Linked DNA regions of Homo sapiens: region 2 is linked to region 1. The links are contacts of gene promoters, found by promoter capture Hi-C in blood cells and fetal thymus (Javierre and others, 2016). All regions are on one chromosome and are shown on one strand. Each heading gives the region's core, a stretch centred on a gene start or on the middle of the fragment in contact. The rest is flanking DNA. Distances are from core to core; before and after follow the strand shown. Region 1 holds the start of OCIAD2 (OCIA domain containing 2). Region 2 overlaps FRYL (FRY like transcription coactivator).

What was found. The method cuts DNA at HindIII sites, captures the fragments that hold promoters and counts their contacts. A CHiCAGO score of 5 or more calls a contact.
Region 2: a contact is called between a fragment that was not itself captured here and the fragment with the promoter of OCIAD2 in region 1, in 1 of 17 cell types (total CD8 T cells). The highest score is 5.4, in total CD8 T cells.

The regions. Positions count from the first base shown.
Region 1 is chr4:48,903,119-48,909,529 of GRCh38, forward strand. OCIAD2 (OCIA domain containing 2) reads right to left here and starts at 3,656. Exons shown (of 7, transcript NM_001014446.3): 1 at 3,540-3,656; 2 at 1,366-1,493. The coding sequence starts at 1,431. RefSeq lists a silencer at 3,334-3,593 and an enhancer at 3,884-3,963. The HindIII fragment of the contact is 6,070 bases long and covers 1,921-6,411 here.
Region 2 is chr4:48,627,868-48,634,278 of GRCh38, forward strand. The region is part of intron 4 of FRYL (FRY like transcription coactivator); the gene reads right to left. Among named protein-coding and RNA genes, the nearest start is that of ZAR1, 140 kb to the left of the region's middle. The HindIII fragment of the contact is 3,638 bases long and covers 2,006-5,643 here.

The DNA of each region.
Region 1 (6,411 bases), core at 2,406-4,905:
ACTATTTTTAGCTTGAACATGAACGCCATTGACCCATCAAATGCTTTCTCTTTTCTTCATTGATGTATTCCTGAAATACACAATATCCATTCCTAACAAGTTGAAAAATTGTTTCCATGTTAACACTTGGGTTCTCAATCTGCTAGCTAATTAGTAATAAAGGACTCTGCCACCCTGAACAGGAACACCTGTCAGCAGCATAGGATTAGTGTGATTACTTACAGTAATATAAATGTAAAAAAATAAGCAAAATATTGCCTGTAATCTCAGCACTTTGGGAGGCTGAGGTGGGAGGATCATTTGAGCTCAGGAGTTTGAGACCAGCCTGGGCAATATAATGAGACCCCCATCTCTAAAAAATAAATGAAAGGATAAATAAAAATAAATAAGCAACATGTATCACTCTGTTAGAGTCTATTAAGAGTTTTGCTCTGCTATCAGAAACCTCTTCAGTCACTGACAGTTCATCTAAGAGTTAGTAAGGCTGGATTACAAACAGGAAAGAGTAAAGAAAGGGTTTTTTTTTTTTTTTTTTTTCTTTTTTTTGAGACAGAGTCTCGCTCTGTTGCCAGGCTGGAGTGCAGCGGCCTGATCTCGGCTCACTGCAAGCTCCGCCTCCTGGGTTCATGCCATTCTCCTGCCTCAGCCTCCTGAGTAGCTGGGACTACAGGCACCAGCCACCATGCCCGGCTATTTTTTTGTATTTTTAGTAGAGATGGGATTTCACTATGTTGGCCAGGATGGTCTCGATCTCTTGACCTCGTGATCCACCCGCCTCGGCCTCCCAAAGTGCTGGGATTACAGGCGTGAGCCACCGCGCCCAGCCAAGAAAGAGTTTTGTAAATAAAATTTTAAATTTTAAATTTTAAATTTCAGCTTCTTTTCAAAGCAGCTGAAAACACACTTTCCTTCCCCATCCTATTTTCCCTAAGCCCATCCAACAAAGTGCCAGACTGAAAAAAATAAGATGACTGGTTAAAGTTGAAATTTAATAAAAATCCTATGATATATATTTTTTCAGATGGCAGGTCCTGCAATTAAAAGTATACCTGACCAGGCATGGTGGCTCACGCCTGTAATCCCAGCACTTTGGCAGGCCTAGATAGGAGGATTAATTGAGGCCAGGTGTTTGAGACCAGCTTGGGCAATATAGTGAGACCTCATGTCTAACCACAAAAAAAATTAGCCAGGCATGTGGGCCTGCACCTGTCATCCCAGTTAAGTGAGAAGCTCAAGTAGGAGGATCACTTAATCCAGCAGTTCGAGACTGCAGTGAGCCATGACTGCACCACTGCACTCCAGTCTGGGTGACAGTGTGAGATCGTGTCTCAATCAATGAATCGATCAATAAATATAAAAGTATACCTGCTTGCTTGGTGGTGGAAAATGGGCATCTTTATCTTGGTTTCCACGAGCAGACGCTGAAGCCATGATGACTTTGTGCTTGCTCTCCTTCCAGTTGTTTATCCTCTGCTTACTCCTTGACCCAGTGTCTAAGGAAGGTAGAAGAGAATCACTATGCCATGACTAAATGTTTGCATCAAGCTTAAAAGCATCCTGAGGATCCACTGGAGTTATTTGGAAAATGTGTTTTTCCTTTTGTCATTAGTCCATCTGCAAACTCAACTTCCAGTGCTCCTCTTCCACCAGCACACATACATGCACTCACTAATGGGGACAGATCAGATTTAGAATAGAGTGGAAATACCACACTGTGCACTGAGTGTCGATTATGTGCCAGGCCAGGGGATATGAAGAAGGATAAGACAAGATCACCGCTGTGAAGGAATTCACAGTCCAAAAGGGGAGATAGACAAGTCAACAGTTACACAACATGAAAAGTATGCATGGGATGCTAAGGAAGAAAAGAAAGCAGGGTCCATTCCATCTAGTCATGTCACAAAGGAACTAGGACTCCTAAGCTTTCAGGAGGATCTGTGGAGGGTAGATGGACTCTGGGGCAGGAGGACCAGGTTGGAAGGTGGTACACTAGTCCAGACAAGGAGTTACAGGGACGTGAACAAAGACCCTGGTGGGAATTTAGCATCTTTGATAGAGATGCTAAATTTGGGTTTGGAAATGTTGGATTTGGGTGCCTGTGGGGGCAAACAGTGGAATTAGCCACTGTTAATATTTGACGATTTGGGTCTAGAGTTCCAGAACAGGGGTAGGCTAGAGAGATGAAGTTGGGAGCTGCCATCATAGAGATGAGAGTTAAAGCAGGGAACTTTAATAAATGTGTCTAAAAACAGTACTGGAGAATATGAACACTGAGCCCAAGGGAATATCGAAAAGAGAAGAAAGATTAAAAAAAAAAAAGCAGGCCAAGGAAATGACTGAGAAGGAATAGCTGATACAGAGGGGAGGGAATTTCTGAAGGAGGGAGTGAATCATCAACACCATCACATGGCTTAGAAAAGTGGACCCTGGATTTGGCAATGATGGACATAATCCAGGTGGACTTTGAGCCTCCTCCTGCCCCCAGTGGCCACTGCATTCTGCAGCCCTGAACTCTACCTCTACCTCTGCTTTTCTTCTGCAAAATGAACCTCTTATATACAATTCTGTTTCCTACATCAGTTACTAAACTTTGAGGCATTTGAGCCAAGGGGACCCGTACTCGCACCAAGTTTCATCACAGGTGTCTAATGTGATTACAGGGGCAGCACGGTGCCCTGCACGGGAAAGTACTGGGGTCAGAGAGACCAGAGTTCAAATCGTGACTCTTTACCCCTGCGATCCCTTTGGTGCAAATGACTTAATCCGTCTCTGCCTCAGCTTTCTCCACTGTTAATTGGGCATAATGGACACAACAATGGTGAGGGGCTCTTGCAGGAATGAAGACTAGGATGAGGATGAGGATGAGGGATACGTCCATAAAGCCCCTGCACACCTTCCATTTCCTGAGCACTCCCAGGAAGTCTTTGCTGACCACGCCAAATTAGATTATCTTTGCTTAGCCATTAGGCCGCTGCCCTATATTGGGAGGCAAATATACCTCTCAGCTTCGGTGGCCAGGTCCCCTGGCACCCACTTAGTCCTCAGTCTGCACCTAAAAGCAAGCCTTCCGAGGGTCTTGCCTTGCAGGTGTAGCTCCCACCCCCCACGCTGGGGTGGTCCGGGGACCCTCTGTTTCCTCAGTGGTGGGGAAGGGACCCGTGGGTTCGTGGGTGCTGACCGACGAATGTGCGGAGGAGGGCGCGCCCCAGCATGGGGGGCGGGGGTGCTTCTTAGGATGGCTTGGAGGGGGGCGCCTGCAGGGCTGGACGGCGGACGGGGGACACTGCACTTTCTGATGCGGTCGGGGAAGCCGGGAGTCAGCCTACTGGAGTCCGCTGCCATCCCTGGCCAGAAGCAGCCAGCGCCACCCCAAGCTCCCCAGCCCCTCGCCCGTGCCGGGGCCGCCGGGGTCCGAGTTAGGGGAGAGTGGGGGGCGGCCACCGCTGCACCGCGCGGCCTTCGAAGGACTGCCCTGCGGCGCCGCGTTCCCCCGAGGCCACCCCCTCCCGCCGTCAACACTCCCCGGGGCGGGGGCTCACCTGTGTGGTCTGGGTCGCCTCCGAGGCCGAGTCCCTCGTTGCCAAGCCCAGCAGGCCTCGCTCCCCCGTGACTGCACCGCCGGCCCGCTCCAGCTTCCCGAGTACCCCACCTGTCTCCCCGGCTTCCTTCCGGCCCTTTGTGTTTTCTTCTCTTGCTCCGCCCCCTCGCCTGCCCGCTAAGCACTTAAGCTGGTGAAGTCACCCTACTGCCACCTGGCAGTCACTTTCGCTGTTGGTGGCAACCCAGGCTGGAACCCAGCTCTTGCCGGAACCCCTGCCCCATCCTTGAGGCTTGTCCCGACACCGAGTAGGTTCTAGTTCCTTTGTGCCTTCCAAATGACTCCCTTCCTCCAGCAATCACAGCCGCAACAGCCATGTATTGCGCCCCCGCCCTAGGCCAGGCGTGGGCATCACCTTTGCACTCCTTTCTGCAGCCGTGTGTGGTGCCCACTGTGACCTGCACTTCACAGACGGGTCATCTGAGTTGTGCAGGCCACTAAGGGAGCCTGGAGTCAACCCCAGGCCTGCTTGGCTCCCAGGCCTTCTCTTTCCATTGCTCTTTGTCGGTCCCCTGCTGCCTCCTGTCCCTCCCCAACTCTGACTTGTGGAGGGAAGCCTTTGACATGTGGGGGTACCTTTAATACCGATATCACTTGTTACCGGAGAGGGGTCCCGATCCAGACCCCAAGCGAGGGTTCTTGGACTTCTCGCAAGAAAGAATTCGGGGTGAGTCCGTAGAGTGAGAGCAAGTTTATTAAGGAAGTATAGAAAACAGGCCGGGTGCGGTGGCTCACGCCCATAATCCCAACACTTTGGGAGGCAAAGGCAGGCAGATCACTTGAGCTCAGGAGTTCAGACCAGCCTGGCCAACATGGTGAAACACTCTCTCTACTAAAAATACGAAAAGTTAGCCAGGCATGGTGCTCTATGCCTGTAATCCCAGCTACTCGGGAGGCTGAGGCAGGAGAATCGCTTGAACTCCGGAGGCAGAGGTTGCAGTGAGCCGAGATTGCGCCACTGCACTCCAGCTTGGGCGACAGAGCCAGACTCTGTCTCAAAAAAAAAAAAAACAAAAAAAAAACAAAAAACAAGAAGAACAACAACAAAAAAGAATGGCTACTCCACTGGCAGAGCAGCTGTGTGGGCTGCTTAGCTAATTATACTGGTAGTTATTTCTTGATTCTATGCTAAACAAGGGGTGGATTATTCATGAATTTTCCAGGAAAAGGGTGGGCAATTCCCGGAACTGAGGGTTCCTTCACTTTTTAGACCATATAGGGTAACTTTCTGACGTTGCCATGGCACTTGTAAACTGTCATGGCCCTGGTGGGAGGGTCTTTTATCAGGCTAATGCATTAAAATTAGCATTTAATGAGTAATGAGGACGACCAGAGGTCACTTTCATGACCATCTTGATTTTGGTGGGTCTTGGCTGGCTTCTTTACTGAGTCCTGTTTCATCAGCAAAGTCTTTGTGACCTGTACCTTGTGCCAACCTTCTATCTCATCCTGTGACTAAGAATGCTGAACCACCTGGGAAGGCAGCCCAGTAGGTTTCAGCCTTATTTTACTCAGTCCCTATTCAAGATGGAGTGGCTCTTGTTCAAACACCTCTGGACACAGTTACCCCAGCCATGGCTGACAAAGTTTTCTGGGCTGAGCTGCCAGGACTGACTGAGTGTGTTGACTTGGAGAGAGGCTGTGGATCTCCACTGAAGGCCCTCTTCATTTCTCACCTTTTCCTATTGTGCGAATTGGTCCCTGTACCTGTGGCCGCTTCCTCCTCACGCCTCCCCGATCCACACCTCCAACTTGTTGTTTCTCAGATTCACACAGCTCTTTTCCACTGGAGGCCCTCCCCTGCCTGCAGCCTCTCCCGATTGGTCCTGTCCTGGCTTTTTCCTACTCCTTCTTTTTGACTGTTCCTCAGGAAAATCTTCCTTGACCCCAGCCTAAGGCAGGCCTTTCTTCTTTTTCATAGCACAGGACACTATTGTTTTCCTTCATAGCACTTATCACAACTCATTATGTACTTATTAGTGTGTTCATTTATATAAAGCATATTTTCCCTGCTGCAGAGTAATCTTCATGAGGTTCAGAACAAGATGGTGTCAGTTTTGTTCACCATTGTGTAGCATCTTGGATATAGAAGGGGCTCAATAAATATTTGTTGAATGAATGAATGAATGAATGAATGAATAAGTGAGCCTAGGTTCAATGACTGTCAAGATACTGTTGTTTTGGATGGTTCATTTCCCTAGTAGATCCTCCAGACCACATTCCTCCATGGATTCACTGGTTTTCTCCCCACCAAAGTGTGTCTTATTTCCTTTTCACTCCTTTTTCCACCTCCAAATTAAAGGGAATATAATTCTATTGCTAATTTCACATTGCATTACCAGAAATCAGAAAAAATCAGCTGGTTTGAACAGAACAGGTTTTGTGATTTAAATGAACAACCCTCCATTACACTGAAGTCAGTGTAATGGACACATAACCTAAGTGGCATTTGTCCTTTAACATCTTGCTATGGTATGCAAGATGTTATACCTGTTATGCATATGTGACAGCTGCGCTTCTGGTCTCCCATGACCTTATTATTTTTTTTTCTTTTTAGAGATGGGAGTCTTGTTATGTTGCTCAGGCTGGAGTGCAGTCCAGGCCCCCACCCTCATCTCTACTTTCCACCAAATAGGCCATTGACTACCTTAAATAGCAAGAAGTCATCATATGTAACGTGCATCGGTTATGACCAATTGGTATTTGTTGGGCAAATCTGATGTGTCCATGTATTGTTCTAGCACTTTCAAAGATAATAGAAAAAGACATGAGTCTTTTCCACAAAGGATATATCAATTCCCAAAGAATTATAA
Region 2 (6,411 bases), core at 2,575-5,074, 280 kb before region 1:
TTTAAGTGATTCTTCTGCCTCACCTCCCCAGCAGCTGGGATTACAGGCGCCTACTACCACGTCCAGCTAGTTTTTGTATTTTTAGTAGAGATGGGGTTTCACCATGTTGGCCAGGCTGGTCTCGAATGCCTGACCTCAGGTGATCCATGCGCCTCAGCCTCCCAAAGTGCTGGGGTTACAGGCGTGAGCCACCATGCCCGGCCTCAATATATTAGTATTTTTTAAAAGACAAACTATTAAAAAACATTTATTGTCTATGTAACTCATCACAAACAACTAAAAAGTAAAATTATTCTTTACACTAACACATAAATGAATGCAAAGATGTGTGTACAGCAATATGTCCTGTAGCATTTCTTTAAAGCAGCCTCAAACTAGGGTAAGGCCAAAACTGCCTATCAATAGAGACTGATTTAAAACTATATATGTAATATTCGACTGTTAGAAAGAATGAGATTAATTTATATTGGCTGATACATAATAATCTCCAATTTAGATTGTTAAAATAAAAATATCTGGGTACAGAAAAAATGTGTATTTTATATATATCTCCCCTTCATTTGCGTGTGTGTGTGTGTGTGTGTGTGTGTGTGTGTTTAAAGGTGATTTCATATAAGTAAAAAAAATAGAACAAAGAATACGAGAGGCTGGGAGGGGTAGGGGAAAGAGAGGCACAGAGAGATTTGTTAAAGAATACAAAATTACGACTAGAGTGGGGGGAATAATTTCTAGTGTTCTATACCACTGCAGGATGACTATAGTAACAATAATACATTATATAGTTTCAAATAGCCATAATAGAAGGAGGATATTGAATGCCCCAACATAAACAAAATGACAAACACTTGAGATGATGGATATGCTAATTAGCCTGGTCTGATCACCATATGTATTACCACATCCCTATGTACTCCCATGAGATCTGCAATTATTATACGTCAATTATTTTTAAGATTAAAATTTTTTAAATTGAAAGAATAAAAAGTTTTTAAAGGTGGCAGGTGCTACATAGATGGATAAGTAATAGACATGAAAAACTGGTAGACTAAAAACTGTTGATAGTGATTAGATGTTTTTATTATATAATCTTTAAAACTATTTCTACTTTTTATAGTCTTATTTTCATAGTAATAAAAGTTATAGTAATATTATAATTATAAAATATTATAATACTTTATAATATTATACAGTATTATAGTGTTATTTTCATAATACTATAAAAAGTTAATAATAATTCCAAGGCTCACAATCCTATATTTTATAATTTAATTCTACATATAGTGCATATGTAGGATACCAACAGCAATATGTAGCTTCAGAGAAAGCAAGAGAATTTTTGGAAAAATTTTGAAACCGTAACAATGACACTGAAACATTTCAGTAATCTGTAATTGGAGATGGCAGGTTGAACACTTGTATAGCCAACCTTCTATCCTAAAACAGAACAGTGAAATAATTTTTATAAGGGCTAAAACAAAAGAACAAAAAGGATGGGAGAGGAGGTGAAAAGCAGATGAAGACCATAACTAATTATCTCACCAAACAACGGTGACTCCTGAGTAAGCAAAGGGGAAAGTCGGCAGTCTGTTCATTCAGTCAGTCATTCACTCATTTGTCCAAATTATTTACTGGGTTCACAGTATGCCAGACATTGTTCTAGGTTCTGGAGATACAGCCATAACAAAACGGAAAACAACTCGCTCTCTTACAGAGTTAACAGTCTAATTAGAGAGTAAAGAAGTGTATATTATGTCAGACAGATTTAGGACAGGAAGTTGGAATGGGGACTGAAATTTCAGATAACATGATCATAGAGAAGATGACACTTGAGGCACAACCAGAGGGAAGTGAGTGAGCTTGACCCACAGAGAGTAAAGGAAAGATAACCCAACTGATGCTTTAGAACTTCCCAGAAGGCTCAGGAATTGGAGAACTTGGGTACTCTGAAAGTATGGCTAAAGGTGAGGATAAAAATAAGAGGGCTGATTGAAAGATTGTTTTAAAAAGCTTGTTTAAGAAAGATTTAGACCCTCCCTTTCACTTTACCTTCAGAGGCATTGCCTTTCTTAGGAAAGGGCAAAATACAATGATGCTGACTGGGGCATACAATGGTTGAAGAGGTACCATACTGAAGATAGGGAGGTTAAGCAAGAATATATAAACCAAATATCAAAAACCCCAGTTATCTTCTGAGTCTAGTTCCCCAGAATGCTTGCAGCTAAAGCCTAAACTCTCCCATTCAGAGTACTGTAGGAACCTTCTTTGGGGACTCTGACAAGTCCCCCAAAAAAGATCTGACACTGATGGTCCATTGACAGTAATACACAGAAGATCACAGTCAAAAAGGCTCCTCTGTGTACACTGGACTTCCAATCAACTGTGTTTCATTCTTAAAATATAACAAGTTAAAATAAACATGTGAGGAGAAGGTAAAACCAGCAGAAAAATGCAGTTTGGAAGAAACTGACCATACAGGGAGAAGAAACCCTTTAAGACACATACATATATTTATACTCTCAAAAAAAATAGTGAAAATTTTAGAGTTTTTAAAATGCTGGGCCTAAATCAAAACATAAGGTCTAAATCAGAAGAAGATAGGTAAATGGATTTTCTTCTATCTTCTTTTCTAGTCCCCAGCAATCTAAAAGATTAACAGATAAACTTGGATATACCTAGGTTATTACCGAGGATTGATCCATCTCCTTTTAGGAAAAAAGGACCTAAGGTATTGGATTGCATAGCCTGCAAGTTGCCATTTCAATCACCAATTGCCCTTCTTGAATCTTCCTTCTAAAATGAAAATGAAATTGTGGCTAAAAATCCAACTCAGCTAATCTTCGAGTCTTTTGGCTTCCTTAATCTTCTTTTATTATGGTTTCTAATGTAAGAATGAAAAAGCCAATTCTCTCATTTTAGTGGTAGATTAAATTCTTTCAGCAAAAGCCATTCACATTTGTGTTTTTGAAACCTACTACCTGACTGACCATGAGCAAGGCCAGCCTCCTTGTATCTGACAAGCCCTGGATGCTATTTTCTTTAAAGTGACTCTGAACCCAGAGAGTCATCTTAGATGATTATTACCTAAAAGGGTACAGAATAAATTTCAAAATAAATGAAATTCCAATAAAAGCATTTGAAGCTATATTGTAAAAACTGTGACAATATTAGATTAAATGTATTTTCATTATCTAATCTTGAAGCTATGGATTCCCAACTTACCCAGACTTGGACATAAATAAAAACAAAGCTGGCACTCTGCTCTAGATAAGAAGAAATTATCTTGGTATATAGGAGTGTAAGGGGTAAAATCTGTAAAATATGATGGTGATTTGGGGGTTTTCCTGGTGTGTCAGGAAGAGTAAGCAGTGATGCCTCTTCTATTTGTGATGGCAGAGTAGAAACATCTACGTTCTGATGAAATCCTTACCACTATTAATCATAATTTTATAATCTCAGATTACATAGCAGATGCCTCTAAAATTAACTATTAAATAAATGAATTAACTAATAAGATAAATGAATAGCATCAGGCTATTCTGAAAGAACTATCGGAAGCTCTGGCTAGAATGAAAACATTATTATTATTATTATTATTAGAAAAACAAAAGGCACACACCACAGCAATACTTCTTAAGGCTACATTCATTAAAATACTAATATTTAACAAAAACCCTCTACTGAGTACCCACCACCACAAGCAGTGCCACAGATACAGAGATGAGAGAGACCTGGTTCCTGGTATCGAGTAACTCACATCGGAGAAGATAAACATGTAAGCAATTAACTATAACGTGATATCATCATAATCTAGAAGTATGTACAAATTATTACAGTAAAATACATATTCATTTAGCTTAGGGGGGGATGACTAAGTTAGAGGGAATATATGGGAAGTTTGGAATGAGAATATATAATATGGCCAGAGGCGGTGGGTCTATAATCCCAGGACTTTGGGAGACCAAGGCAGGTGAATCACTTGAGCCCAGGAGTTTGAGACCAGCTTGGGTGAGATCTCATCTCTACAAAAACACAAAAATTAGCCAGGTGTGGTGGCGCATGCCTGTAGTCTCAGCTACTCAGGAGATTGGGGTGGGAGGATTGCCTGAACCTGGGAGGTGAAGGTTGCAGTGAGCCAAAATTGCGCCACTGAACTCCAGCCTGGGAGACACAGCAAGACCCTGTCTCTCCAAAAAAAAAAAAAAAAAAAAAAAAAAAAAAAAAAAAATATATATATATATATATATATATATATATATATATATGCGCACACAAAATCTCAAATATATAAATATATATATAAAAATTGAGAACTGGTAGGACTGTATCACATGATACTACTATAAAACATTTTATAAAATAAAGTGTTTTTAAAATGTGCTGTGTGACTTGAAAATGGCTGAGGCCAGGTGATGGGTCCTAAGTGTTCATTATACCATAATCTTTAGTTTTATATATGTTTGACATTTTCCATAATAAATTCTTCAATTTGTTTAGAGTTGTTCCCTTACTGTATGCTGTTTAAGTAGACTAGTGTAGTAATTTATCATGTAATTCAGAGACCATTGAAAAAGAAAACTAACATTTTGTAGTTTAAGCATATCTATAATCAAATCTTATAATCATGAACTTATGCTATAGGCTTTTGTAATCCTTACTTCTAAAACAGAACTTTATATTAATAATATATATGCTGTCTATATATATACTATATATACATTATACAATATACACAAAAAATATATATACATTAGTATAAAAATCAATTTGCTATGTGGAAAGCAATCATGGGATGATTTAAACTGAATATAAACATCTGCACAGTTTTGAAATATACATTTGGCTATTATTATGTATCAGATCCCGGAACATATTATTTCATAGATGCTTTCCTCAGAGTAGTTTTCTCTACTTAATCATTGAGAAGAAACTCACCTTCACAGCAATTTCAAGGCTACTTCACTAAGAAAATAAGAGCATTGACAATACTTCCTTCAACTTTCTTCCTGCCCTGTCCTCCCTTCTGTTGTTTTCCTCTCTCATCCTTCTAAGGAACTATAACAGGCTGAGTAAGCACACAGGTTCTAAAGCCAATATATTATTGTGCCTAACTCCTCAGTGCGCCGTCACAAACCCTCTGAATCTGAAATTGGTGGTGAATAGCTATCCCTAATTCAGTTGTGTAAGGAGTGAGTTTCAGCTGTTACAACATCCTTCGCCTTCCTCTCCATTCCCAACATCCCACATCGAACCTACACTGTGTTCTTAGTACATCACATACCCACTTCCTTCCAGCCCAAAGAGTAACCTAAACTGTCACCTATTTAAGTTGGCAGAGAGTCAAAGTTACTTCCTGTAATTATATCAAGAAGGTAAAACTGTTCTGTTTTATTTCTGCTTATTTCCAAATCCAATAACCACTTCTCTCAATGTTCATTGTACTTTGCTGCTCTACGTCATTGGCAATAATAATTCTATATTTTCTTTCCCTTGAAATCATCATTTGCTCTTTTGGCTTCAATTTACACCCTCATATAGATGATACCAAAATCTGTATTTCTAGTTACCATCTCTTGAGTTCTCAAAAAGAATTTCCAACTACCAATCAAGCAACTAATTCCATGTGGTGAGATCATCAGTATCTCAAGCTTAAGGTACGCAAACGAAAAATTATTTTATCCACCTTTTCTACCCAAAGATATTCCTGTGTACTTTACCAAAGTAAATATATTATCATCTTTACTAACACTCCAGAGCATCTTTAACCCTTAACTTTCATTCAAAATGCCCCCTACTTAGTTACTTGTCAAGTTCTATTGATTTTACTTCTGTTATTTCTCTTACTTTCTTCTGCAACCATTTCTACTTCTAACACCATAGTTCAAGACCCCTTTCATTCCAGCCTGAACTATGTACAATAACTAAATAGTCTCCGCTCTCAATGTCTTCTCTCTCTATTGTTCAACCACCATATTATCCATCACAATAGCATTTACAACTCTTTAGAAACTGACCCATGTGTTTGTTTTCAGTCTTTCTCTTCCCTCCTCCTCATCATGGGCTCTAATCAAATAGAGCTTCTCACATTCTCCAAGTATGTCTCACACAATATACATGTAAAATATGTTCTCTTGTTTATTATAAGTTTGGCTGTGACCTTAGTGTTAACTCACATTATATCCTAATTTTCCTTTATTTCCTATGTTTTATTTGTTTCCACAATTCCCACTGTTGAAGTTCCTTTTTGTTCTTTTGCGACCTGCAGCAACTTATCAAAGTGGATTCTAAAGTCAGTGCAGCTTTCTACATCACCACTATCCCTTAATATTTTTTTCAAGTATATTATTTCCTTTGAAAAATCTGCATTATAGTGGTTAATACAAAAGTCAAGAAAATATTTCAGATTTATAGGTC